Regions from separate parts of the Homo sapiens genome. Here region 1 is linked to region 2. Evidence: promoter capture Hi-C in 16 types of primary human blood cells and fetal thymus (Javierre and others, 2016). All regions are on one chromosome and are shown on one strand. The core of a region is centred on a gene start or on the middle of the fragment in contact, and the rest is flanking DNA. Distances in the headings are between cores, read along the strand shown. Region 1 has its middle 2.8 kb from the start of LINC02733. Region 2 holds the start of FADS3 (fatty acid desaturase 3).

Evidence for each region. Contacts are between HindIII fragments. The CHiCAGO score rates a contact against its expected background, and 5 or more counts as called.
Region 1: a contact is called between a fragment that was not itself captured here and the fragment with the promoter of FADS3 in region 2, in 17 of 17 cell types (neutrophils, erythroblasts, naive CD8 T cells and 14 more). The highest score is 23.2, in neutrophils.

Annotation. Positions count from the first base shown.
Region 1 is chr11:62,082,530-62,087,687 of GRCh38, reverse strand. No RefSeq gene overlaps it. Among named protein-coding and RNA genes, the nearest start is that of LINC02733, 2.8 kb to the right of the region's middle. The HindIII fragment of the contact is 4,419 bases long and covers 1-3,857 here.
Region 2 is chr11:61,889,694-61,894,806 of GRCh38, reverse strand. It overlaps FADS3 (fatty acid desaturase 3), which reads left to right and starts at 3,262. Exons shown (of 12, transcript NM_021727.5): 1 at 3,262-3,638. The coding sequence starts at 3,426. RefSeq lists silencers at 2,554-3,363, 3,464-3,593 and enhancers at 3,794-3,963, 3,553-4,241, 4,242-4,931. The HindIII fragment of the contact is 11,072 bases long and covers 1-5,113 here.

The DNA.
Region 1 (5,158 bases), core at 399-2,898, 190 kb before region 2:
TCTGTTTTGGGCTGGGTTTATGGTTTTGTAACCCCTGTGCCAAATTTTGACACCTTATAGTATTTGGCTAGGATAAGTATGAAATTGCTAGATTAATAAATGCAAATAAAATGTATGCTGGAAATTCTTAAGACATTTCTAATATTATTTTACCAATAATTTTAAAGCTAGCTTACTTATTAAAGATTTTACTTAAGTCATGTAAACTTGAAAAATAATTTGACTAGTTTTTCCTTTTTCTGATAAAGTATTTTATTTCAATGCTTTTATTTTTCTTTAAGCCAATTAATTAGACCTCTTTTATATATTTTTGGTAGTGAAACATTGTGTATACAACACATAAATACATAGATGTATTAGGAATGCCAATAGAAATACATCTTATAGGTTGGGTGCAGTGGCTCACGCCTATAATCCCAGCACTTTGGGAGGCTAACATGGGTGGATCACCTGAGATCAGGAGCTTGAGACCAGCCTGACCAACATGGTGAAACCCCACCTCTACTAAAAATACAAAAAATTAGCCGGGCATGGTTGTGGGCTCTTGTAATCCCAGCTACTCAGGAGGCTGAGGCAGGAGAACTGTTTGAACCTGGGGGATGGAGGTTGCAGTGAGCCAAGATCGTGCCACTGCATTCCAGCCTGGGCAACAGAGAGAGACTCTGTCTCAAAAAAAAAAAAAAAAAAAAAAGGCCAGGCGCAGTGGCTCATGCTTGTAATCCCAGCACTTTGGGAGGCTGAGGTGGGCAGATCACGAGGTCAGGAGTTTGAGACCAGTCTGGCCAACATAGTGGAACCCTGTCTCTACTAAAAATAAAAAAAATTATCTGGGTGTGGTGGCGGGCACCTGTAATCCCAGCTACTTGGGAGGCTGAGGCAGGAGAATCGTTTGAAGCTGGGAGCGGAGGTTGTAGTAAGCCATGATTGCGCCACTGCACTCCAGGCCAGTGGACAGTGCGAGACTCCATCTCAAAAAAAAAAAAAAAAAAAAAAAAAAGAATTACATCTTATAGACTTAATAAACACACCTTTTTTTTTTTTTCCTATCTTAGACTTTCAGATACTTGATAACCTGTTTCACAACACTAGGCAGTTGTCAGTTAAATAGCCTTAAATGTGCATATTAAAGGAAAGAACTCAGCTGAAAATCAAATAGAAAAATTTACATCATAAGGTACAGAGAGTAAAAGTCTGGTGGTGCTAGAGGAAGATTAAAGATGGATGCCAAATTGAACATAAAATTATAGAAATCTATCATAGGATTGTATAAGGGGATCAATTTTATTTAGATAGGGCCTACTTATCTTTTAACTGGATCTCTGAGCTCTGGGAAAGCCCACGTTGAATCTTGGGTCTCCAAAAAGGGAGAATTATTATGAGGTTAGACCATGTGATGCTTTTACTGTACACTTAAAAAACATTTTTTTTCGACAAAGACATTTCCAAGTGTCTAAACCACACTTTTCCTCAAAAACCCAAAAGTAAGGCCAGGCACAGTTCCTCATGCCTACAATCCCAGCACTTTGGGAGGCCGAGATGGGTGAATTGCTTGAGCCCAGGAATTCAAGACCAGCCTGGGCATTAGAGTGAGACTGCATCCCTACCAAAAAAAAAAAAAAGAATTAAATAAAATAAAAAGAAGGGATGCAGGCCTGATAACACCTTGGTTTTTAGCTCATAAAGACCCATTTTGGACCTCTGACCCCAGAACTATAAGATAATAAATGTGTGGGGTGGTTTTGGTTTTTGGAATTTTTTTCTTTTTCTTCTTTCTTTCTTTATTTTTTAGAGACAAGGTCTCACTGTGTTGCCAGGCTGGTCTCAAACTCCTGAGCTCAAGCAATTTTCTCACCTCGGCCCCCCAAAGTGCTGGGATTACAGGCATGCACCACTGAGCCCAGCCTTGTGTTGTTTTAAACCACGAAATTTGTGGTAATTTGTTTCAACAACCATAGGAAATTATTTCACCCACCCTGCTTGTTTGTTTTCTCTTTCTGCTGTCTGAAGTTTCTCCCTTTCAGTTTTAGAGCTGAGAAGATCTATCAAACATGAATTTGGCCACAAGCTGACTCTTTCTCTAGGGGTAAATCTTGACCATTTACTAAAATGGGGAAAACAGATCAGTAATGACAGGAGTGAAGAGAAGGCTAGCTAGTGTATGTCCAGTGCTTTGTAAAGTTGCAAGGCTTTTTTCCTAAACCACACATATCCCACATATACACCTAAAAACCTAACACTACAAGGCCATACATGAATTGCCAGAATTATACAGACCTTTTCTGAAATGGTTATAACCTGAATGGTATAAGCATTGGACAAAAACACGTTGAAATCTGAGATCTCTGCAGTTGTATCCCCACAATATTTGAAGAAATAATTTATTGCCAGGCATGATGGCTCACGCCTGTAATCCCAACACTTTGCGAGGCCAAGGCGGGCGGATCACGAGGTCAGGAGTTCGAGATCAGCCTGGCCAATATGGTGAAACCCCGTCTCTACTAAAAATACAAAAATTAGCCAGGCATGGTAGTGGGAGCCTGTAATCCCAGCTACCTGGGAGGCTGAGGCAGGAGAATTGCTTGAACCCGGGAGGCGGAGGTTGCAGTGAGCCGAGATCACGTCACTGCACTCCAGCCTAGGTGACAGAGTGAGACTCCATCTCAAAAAATAAATAAATAAATAAATAAATAAATAAATAAATAAATAAAATAAATATGATTGGGTACGATCTAACACTAACAGGCTGAATGGGGAAACCCAACAAGGCCCATCTGATCAGATTCTTCTTGGTCTCTCTGTGCAGCATTCCTTCCAGGGAATAGGGCAGGACCTGTCTGAAATGAGGGTATTGTGACCTACAATCAAAGTAGGCCAGAGAATTTCCTCATGACCAGCTCCTAGACAGAAAGATAGGAAAAGAAGCAGGTAAAAGGTGGGGAGAAAAAAGGAGCAGGTAAAAGGTGGGCAGGAGAAGGTCAGAGAGAGAGAGAGAGATTCTGTTTCCTGAAGCCTGCTTGTGAGAACTAAAGTGCCCTAACATTATAACAGAAACTGTAATAACAAGAGCTATGGGAGTTATAAGCCAAGAATCATGGGTGAAAACATTTTATATATATATATATGAAAGACATATATATGTTTATAACACATATGTATATGAAATGCATACATATATGAGACACACATATATGTTTTTTCATCCATGGTTCTTGGTTTTATATAAATATCACAACATGTATTTTCAAAAGTGTGAAGCAATTGAAATTCTCCTACTTGAGGACCATAAATAGTTTAATCACTTTATTTTATTTATTTATTTATTTATTTATTTTAGACAGAGTCTCGCTTTGTTGCCCAGGCTGGAGTGCAACAGTGCAATCTCTACTCACTGCAACCTCTGCCTCCCAAGTTCAAGCAATTCTCGTGCCTCAGCCTCCCAAGTAACTGGGATTACAGGCGCCTGCCACCACGCCTGGCTAATTTTTGTATTTTTAGTAGAGACGGGGTTTCACCATGTTGGCCAGGCTGGTCTCAAACTCCAGACCCCAGGTGATCTGCTTATCTTGGCCTCCCAAAGTGCAGGCATTACAGGCGTGAGCCACTGCGCCCGGCCTAGTTTAATCACTTTAGAGAGCACCAGCAACATCCAGTATAGCTGACAATGCGAATAATACACACCCCAGCAACTCTACTCTTGGTCTGACCTTAAAGCAAAGATTCTCAGCCCTGGCTCCATGTTAAAAAACGCCTGGGAGAGTTTTGTTTTTATTTTTTAAATCTGATGTCTCAGGTCCACACTCAGAAATTTTGATTTCATCTGTTCTGTGATGAGGCCCAGAAATGGTCTTTTAAAAGCTTCCTCGGAGCTTTTAAATGTGTACCCTGCCCAAGAGAAAGTCACCCATACAGATAAAGAAGCATTCACCTTGCACCAACTACATAAATAAAATCAAGGGGATTTAAGCATCTAAATGTAAAAAGCAAATTTTTAAAATAATTTTCAAAATTAAATGACTATCTTATGACTTTGGAATACAAAAAGATATCATAAAGACCAGGCACAGTGGCTCACACCTGTAATCCCAGCACTTTGGGAGGCCAAGGCTGGAGGACTGCTTGAGCTCAGCTATTTGAGACCAGCCTGGGCAACACAAAGACCCTGTCTCTATTTTTCTATTATTTTAATGAATTTAAAAAAAAAAGTCCAGGCGCAGTGGCTCACCCCTGTAATCCCAGCACTTCGACGGGCAGATCACCTTAGTTAAGTGAGAGATGGCGAAACCCCATCTCTAGTAAAAATACAAAAAATTAGCCAGGCATGGTGGCAGGCACCTGTAATCCCAGCTACTCGGGAGGCTGAGGCAGGAGAATCGCTTGAACCTGGGAGGTGGAGGTTGCAGTGAGCAGAGATTGTGCCATTGCATTCCAGCCTGGGCAACAGTACAACCTGTGTCTCAAAAAAAAAAAAAAATATATATATATATATATAGATACACACACACACACACACATATATATACGTGCATAGTTATACGAGGAATTTTTCAGCGGTAAACGTGAATCAACTAGAAATATATGTACCAACATGAATAATTCTTAAACACAATGTTGATCAATAAAAGCAAGATATGGCCAGGTGTGGTGGCTCGTGCCTATCATCTCAGAACTTTGGGAGGCCAAGGTGGGCAGATTACTTGAGGTTGGGAGTTCAAGACCAGCCAGGGCCAACATGGTGAAACCCCATTTCTACTAAAAATACAAAAATTCGCCAGATGTGGTGGCACGCACCTGTAGTCCCAGCTACTCAGGAGGCTGAGGAAGGAGAATCGCTTGAACCTGGGAGGCAGAGGTTGCGGTAAGCCAAGATCACGCCACTGCACGCCAGCCTGGGTAACAGAGCGAGACTCCATCTCAAAAAACAAACAAACAAACAAAAAAGACCTTCAGAATGGTACAGTGTGACATCAATTTTTTAAAATTGAAACACAAATCAATACTCTGTGTGTTTATGGATACATATGTAGGTTTTACAAGTATGAAAACAAACATAGGTCTGAAAAACATAATCCTGAATTTTATTTTTACCTCCAACGAAAAAGGGAAAACATCTAAAAATTAAACCCAGTGTCTTTTGGAGGCATGATACTCTAGAGCTAAG
Region 2 (5,113 bases), core at 2,013-4,512:
GATGCAGTATTTGTCCTCTCATTACTGGCTTCTTTCACTTCATGTCCTCAGTGTCCATCTGTTGTAGCATGTGACAGGATTTCCTTCCTTTTTAAGACTGAATAATATTCCATTGTATGCATAGACCACGTTTTATTTTTTATTTTTAATTTTATTATATTATAATTAATTATTACTCCAGGCTGGAGTGCAATGGTGCGATCTCGGCTCACCGCAACCTCCACCTCCTGGGTTCAAGCCTTTCTCCTGCCTCAGCCTCCTGAGTAGCTGGGATTACAGGCATGCGCCACCATGCCTGGCTAATTTTTGTATTTTTAGTAGAGACAGGGTTTCTCCATGTTGGCCATGATGGTCTCAAACTCCTGATCTCAGGTGATCCGCCCGCCTCAGCCTCCCAAAGTGCTGGGATTACAGGTGTGAGCCACCGCGCCTGGCCTGACCACGTTTTGTTTATCCAGTGTCTGTGGATGGACAGTTGTGCTGCCTCACAATGACCTCTTGGCCATTGTGAATAATGCTGCTAAGAAAATAGATGTACAAATATCTCCTCAAGACTCTGCTTTCGGTTCTTTTGGGTATATGCCCAGAAATGGAATTGCTGAATCATAGGCATTTTAAAGCCATTTTCATACTCTTTTCTATAGTTGGCTATAGCACTTCACATTCTTACCCACAATGCACAAGGGTTCTGCATCATTGCCAACACGTGTGATTTGATTTTTTGAGACCAGGTCTCCCTCTGTAGCCCAGGCTGGAGTACAATGGCATGATCTTGGGGCACTACAACCTCTGCTTCCCAGGCTCAAGCGATCCTCCTACCTCAGCCTCCTAAGTAGCTGGGACTACAGGCGCACGCACCACCATGCCCTGCTAGTTTTTTTTTTTTTTTTTTTGTAGAAATAGGGTTTTGTCATGTTGCCCAGGCTGGTCTCGAACCCCTAGGCTCAAGAGATCCTCCCAAAGTGCTGGGATTACAGGCGTGAACCACCATGCCTGGCATGATTTTTTCATTTATGTATTTATTTATTAAAGACGGGGTTCCTGCTATGTTGCCGAGGCTGGTCTTGAACTCCAGGGCTCAAGCAATCCTCCTGCCTCGGCCTCCCAAAGTGGTGGGATTCCAGGCCTTTTTCTTTTTTATAGGAGCCCTCCTAACAAGTGTGAGACAGTATTTCATTGTGGTTTCATTTGCAGCTCTCTGATGATTAGCAATGCTGAGCACCTTTTCGTGTGTGTGTTGCCCATTTGTGTGCAGCCCCTCTTTCCTGAGGAGCATTCTGAGGAGCTCCGCCTGGCCTCCACAGTGATCCCTTCGAGGAGGACTTGGCCAATAGGGCTGTGATCCCTGCCCTCACTCACGGCTCTTGCATGATTCTGTGGCCCCCCCTTCATCTTCCCCATCTCTTCTGGGGGCAGCTGGGGAAAGTGGAGGTTCTAACCTATCACAACCCCCAACCACCTCACACACAGGGGCTGAGACCAGGCCAGGGCTGGCTCCAAGGAAGAAGCCCCTAGGATGGCCACATCTGACCACTCAGGGCTGCTGAAGGTGGGGCCAGGGCCAGGTCCATGCCTTCAGTGGATTTTGGTGCAGGGGATGCATTCCTTCAAGAATCTGCCTTCTCCATTCCTGTGCTGTGTGAACATGGTACGGGGTAGGGGTGCCTGCAGCCCCCTTGGGCCAGGGCCACCAGCCATGCTCTTGCACCCCCACACACATGTGCCAGGTTGGGGTTCCAGGATATGGTCAGTGGGTGCCTCAGTGGAGAGGGCCCAGGCAGCCCCGGTGCCTGATGACATCATGGGCCTTGCTGGATGTCCTGACAAGCAAAGGCAGGAGCTCCTGGTACCAGGGAGAACTCGCCCCCTCTGCCCTTCTGGGGATACTGGTCCTCTTTAGACCAAGACAAAATATTAGCATATCAGAGAAATATACTTAGGGTTTTCTAAGTGCATTTCCCCAACCAGCCGGTCAGCATCACCTGTGAACTGGCCATGTAAGTCTCTGCCTCCACACCAGACCCACCGAATAACCCTCCTGGGTGGTTCTGATGGAAGCCTTTCAGGTGGTTCTGATGGAAGATTGACGACCAGCGCTCTGGAAGTAACTTTAGCCTGATTTGAATTCCTTGCTGCTGTGAACGCTTAACTTTTAGGAACAGGTATATTTATCACAAAGAAATCCGAAGCAATTAGGGGAGCTACCTACACTTTCAAAAGGACTTGAATGTATTTAAATTAAAAAAAGCGGATGGGGCCCGGGTGCAGTGGCTCATGCCTGTAATCCCAGCATTTTGGGAGGCGGGAGGGTCACTTGAGTCCAGGAGTTCAAGACCAGCCTGGGCAACATGGCAAGACCCATTTCTACAAAAATAAAATAACACCAAAAATTAGCCGGGTATGATGGGGCGCGCCTGTAGTCCCAGCTGGGGACTCCCGAGACTGAGGTGGGGGTATCTCCTGAGCTTAGGATGTTGAGGCTGCAGTGAGCCGACATCATGCCACTACACTGCAGCCTGGGCGACAGAGTGAGACTCCTGTCTCAAAACAAAAAAGAGGGGCGGGGAAGCAGTAACAAGCACAGGTGTCCTCAGCCCATGGATGGCAGCGCCCGCCTCCACGCGCCAGTGCCCTCCTGCTCCCCTACCTCCCCCTTGGCCACCCCTGGGCATCCCCAGCCCTGCAGCGCCGAGGGCGGAGGGGAGGCCACCCGCCCCCAGCAGAGGGCTCCGAGAGAGCTGCAGCGGCGGTGGGGGCCCCGCAGAGATTGGGGCCCATGGTTTGAAGGCTGTTCACAGGCACCCCGAGACAGCGTCCCCCCTCTGGGCGCACTGGATTTGACGTTGCAGGACGCGCGGCTGGAAGCCCCCCAGGCCCCGCTGCTCACAGACCGGGACTCCGCCTCCGGTTCCCGAGGGCGTGGCGAGGCGCTGCGGGACGCCCAACAGGTGCGTGTTGTGTCCCCAGGCCCCGCGCTCCGGGTGGAGTCAAGAACCTGGAAGCCGGCAGCCCGGGAAAAGGGGGCGGGACGGTGCCCCGGGGCAGGGCTGGGTGGCGGCCGCTGTCCTCCCGGGAGGGGCGGGCCGCCTCGACGCCGCCCTCCCTGGCGGCCAATGGAGACCGAGGCCCCGCGCCTGGATTGGAGCGGACGCGGGGGGTCAGCCAGCCTTGGGGGCCGGGGCCTGGCCGGGGGCGGGGGGGCAGGCGAGGCGAGGCGGGCGCCGTCCGCGCGGTTATAAGGCGGGGAGTTCCCTGCGCCGCGAGCCGGGAGGCGCACGCTCGCTCGTACGGCGGCCGCGGCGGCAGGGCGGGGCCGGAGCAGCGGGCGGCGGCGGAGGCGGCGCCCGGGAGCGCTCTTCGCTTCCCTCGGGGTCTTGCTCGGACCTCGGCCACCGCCTGGGATCCCCAGGACTCGTGCGTGCAGCATGGGCGGCGTCGGGGAGCCGGGACCGCGGGAGGGACCCGCGCAGCCGGGGGCGCCGCTGCCCACCTTCTGCTGGGAGCAGATCCGCGCGCACGACCAGCCCGGCGACAAGTGGCTGGTCATCGAGCGCCGCGTCTACGACATCAGCCGCTGGGCACAGCGGCACCCAGGGGGCAGCCGCCTCATCGGCCACCACGGCGCTGAGGACGCCACGGTAAGGAAGCCATAAGGAAGCCACCCACCGGCGGGTGGAGCCTGGAGCTCGGTCGTGGGCGTGATGTCCCGCTCCACCTGTGGGGCCTTAGCATCCTCCCTCCCCTCGCTGACCTTTGACCTCCACGCCGGGACCCAGAGTTGGGGTGGACTAGCCAGGGCCAGATGTGGGGTAGGGAGGGCAGTTCCCTGCGTGGAGGACCCGCAGCTGTCCACGGAGCAGGTCTGCGGGGGAGGAGGGGGCCTCAGAGGTGGGTGTGTCATGCTGCAGAGCCTGCCCTGGGTGAGGGGCTGCCCTGTTGCTCCCAGGTCCCTGTTTCAGTTCTGGGTCCCCATGCTGGGTGCTTGCTGAGTGCTAGGGGTAGGGCAGGGCAGGGTCCCCAGGGGCCGGTAAGGACATGCCATTAGAGGCTGGGGGCTGGGCCGGCCTGAGGTCTGTGGCTTTCCCAAGAGCTTCTGTAAAGGGCTCAGGGACAGTGACTCACCTCTCCGGGCTAGCAGCTGCACGTGGGAGGGCTTTGCCAGCCAGGCTGGGTGGGCCTCTCCTGGAAGCACAGTCACCCCAGGAACAGGCTGGCCCCTGGGGACCCCAACTTCCCAATCCCAGCCCCTGTCTAGACAGGCAGGGATGTAGCCTGGCCCCAGGGTACTGTCTGGCTGGAGTCCAGTGGTGGAGCAGCCCGACCAGCCCCTTTTCCTTAGTTACCCACCTGCATAATAGGGGTTGGGGCCACGATGCCCTGTCCTTGACCCTCCAAATTTCTAGGTTGGCCACACTGGGTATCAGGAAGGTCTTCAAGACCCGAGGACATGAATCCTGAATGCTGGCTTTTTGGGCAGCAGCGGAGGTTCTGTCCAGTCCCAGGACTGTCGGCGTCCCTCTTGACAGGGCCACCTGCTCTCTGCCGATTGCCATCTCCAGCATGTTGGACAATCTTCACTGGACTCTTTGAGGAAGAAAGCCCCTCTTTTCCCCTTCCACCCCATGAAGCTGAGGAGTGAGAATAAGAATCCTCCTGAAATTCTAAAAAAAGAAAAAAAAAAAAAAGAGAACGCCTTGTCCGTGGCTGTTCAGGCGCCAGACGCTGGCCCGAGGGGACAGCACAGCCGTGGGATGAAGCAGCCTGGGGGCAGTATTTGAGCGTGCAGGTGTTTGCATGTCTGGGTGAGTGTGGTGTGTGTGCCTGCCTTTCTGCCAGGGCGTGGCGAGGTGAGGGGCACGGCTTCTCCCCAAAGGCCTTGCTGAGCCCTGGCCTCCCTTCAAGGAGTCTTGTGGATGCCTGCTCTGGTCTTTTTCTAAAAAAGTATCTATTTTATTTATTATTATTTGTTTAAAAATAGAGACAGGGTCTCACTATGTTGCTCGGGCTGGTCTCAAAGTCCTGGGTTCAAGCATTCCTCCTGCCTCAGCCTCCGAAAGTTCTGGGATTACAGGCATGAGCCACCACTCCCGGCCTGCTCTAGTCTTTTGTAACC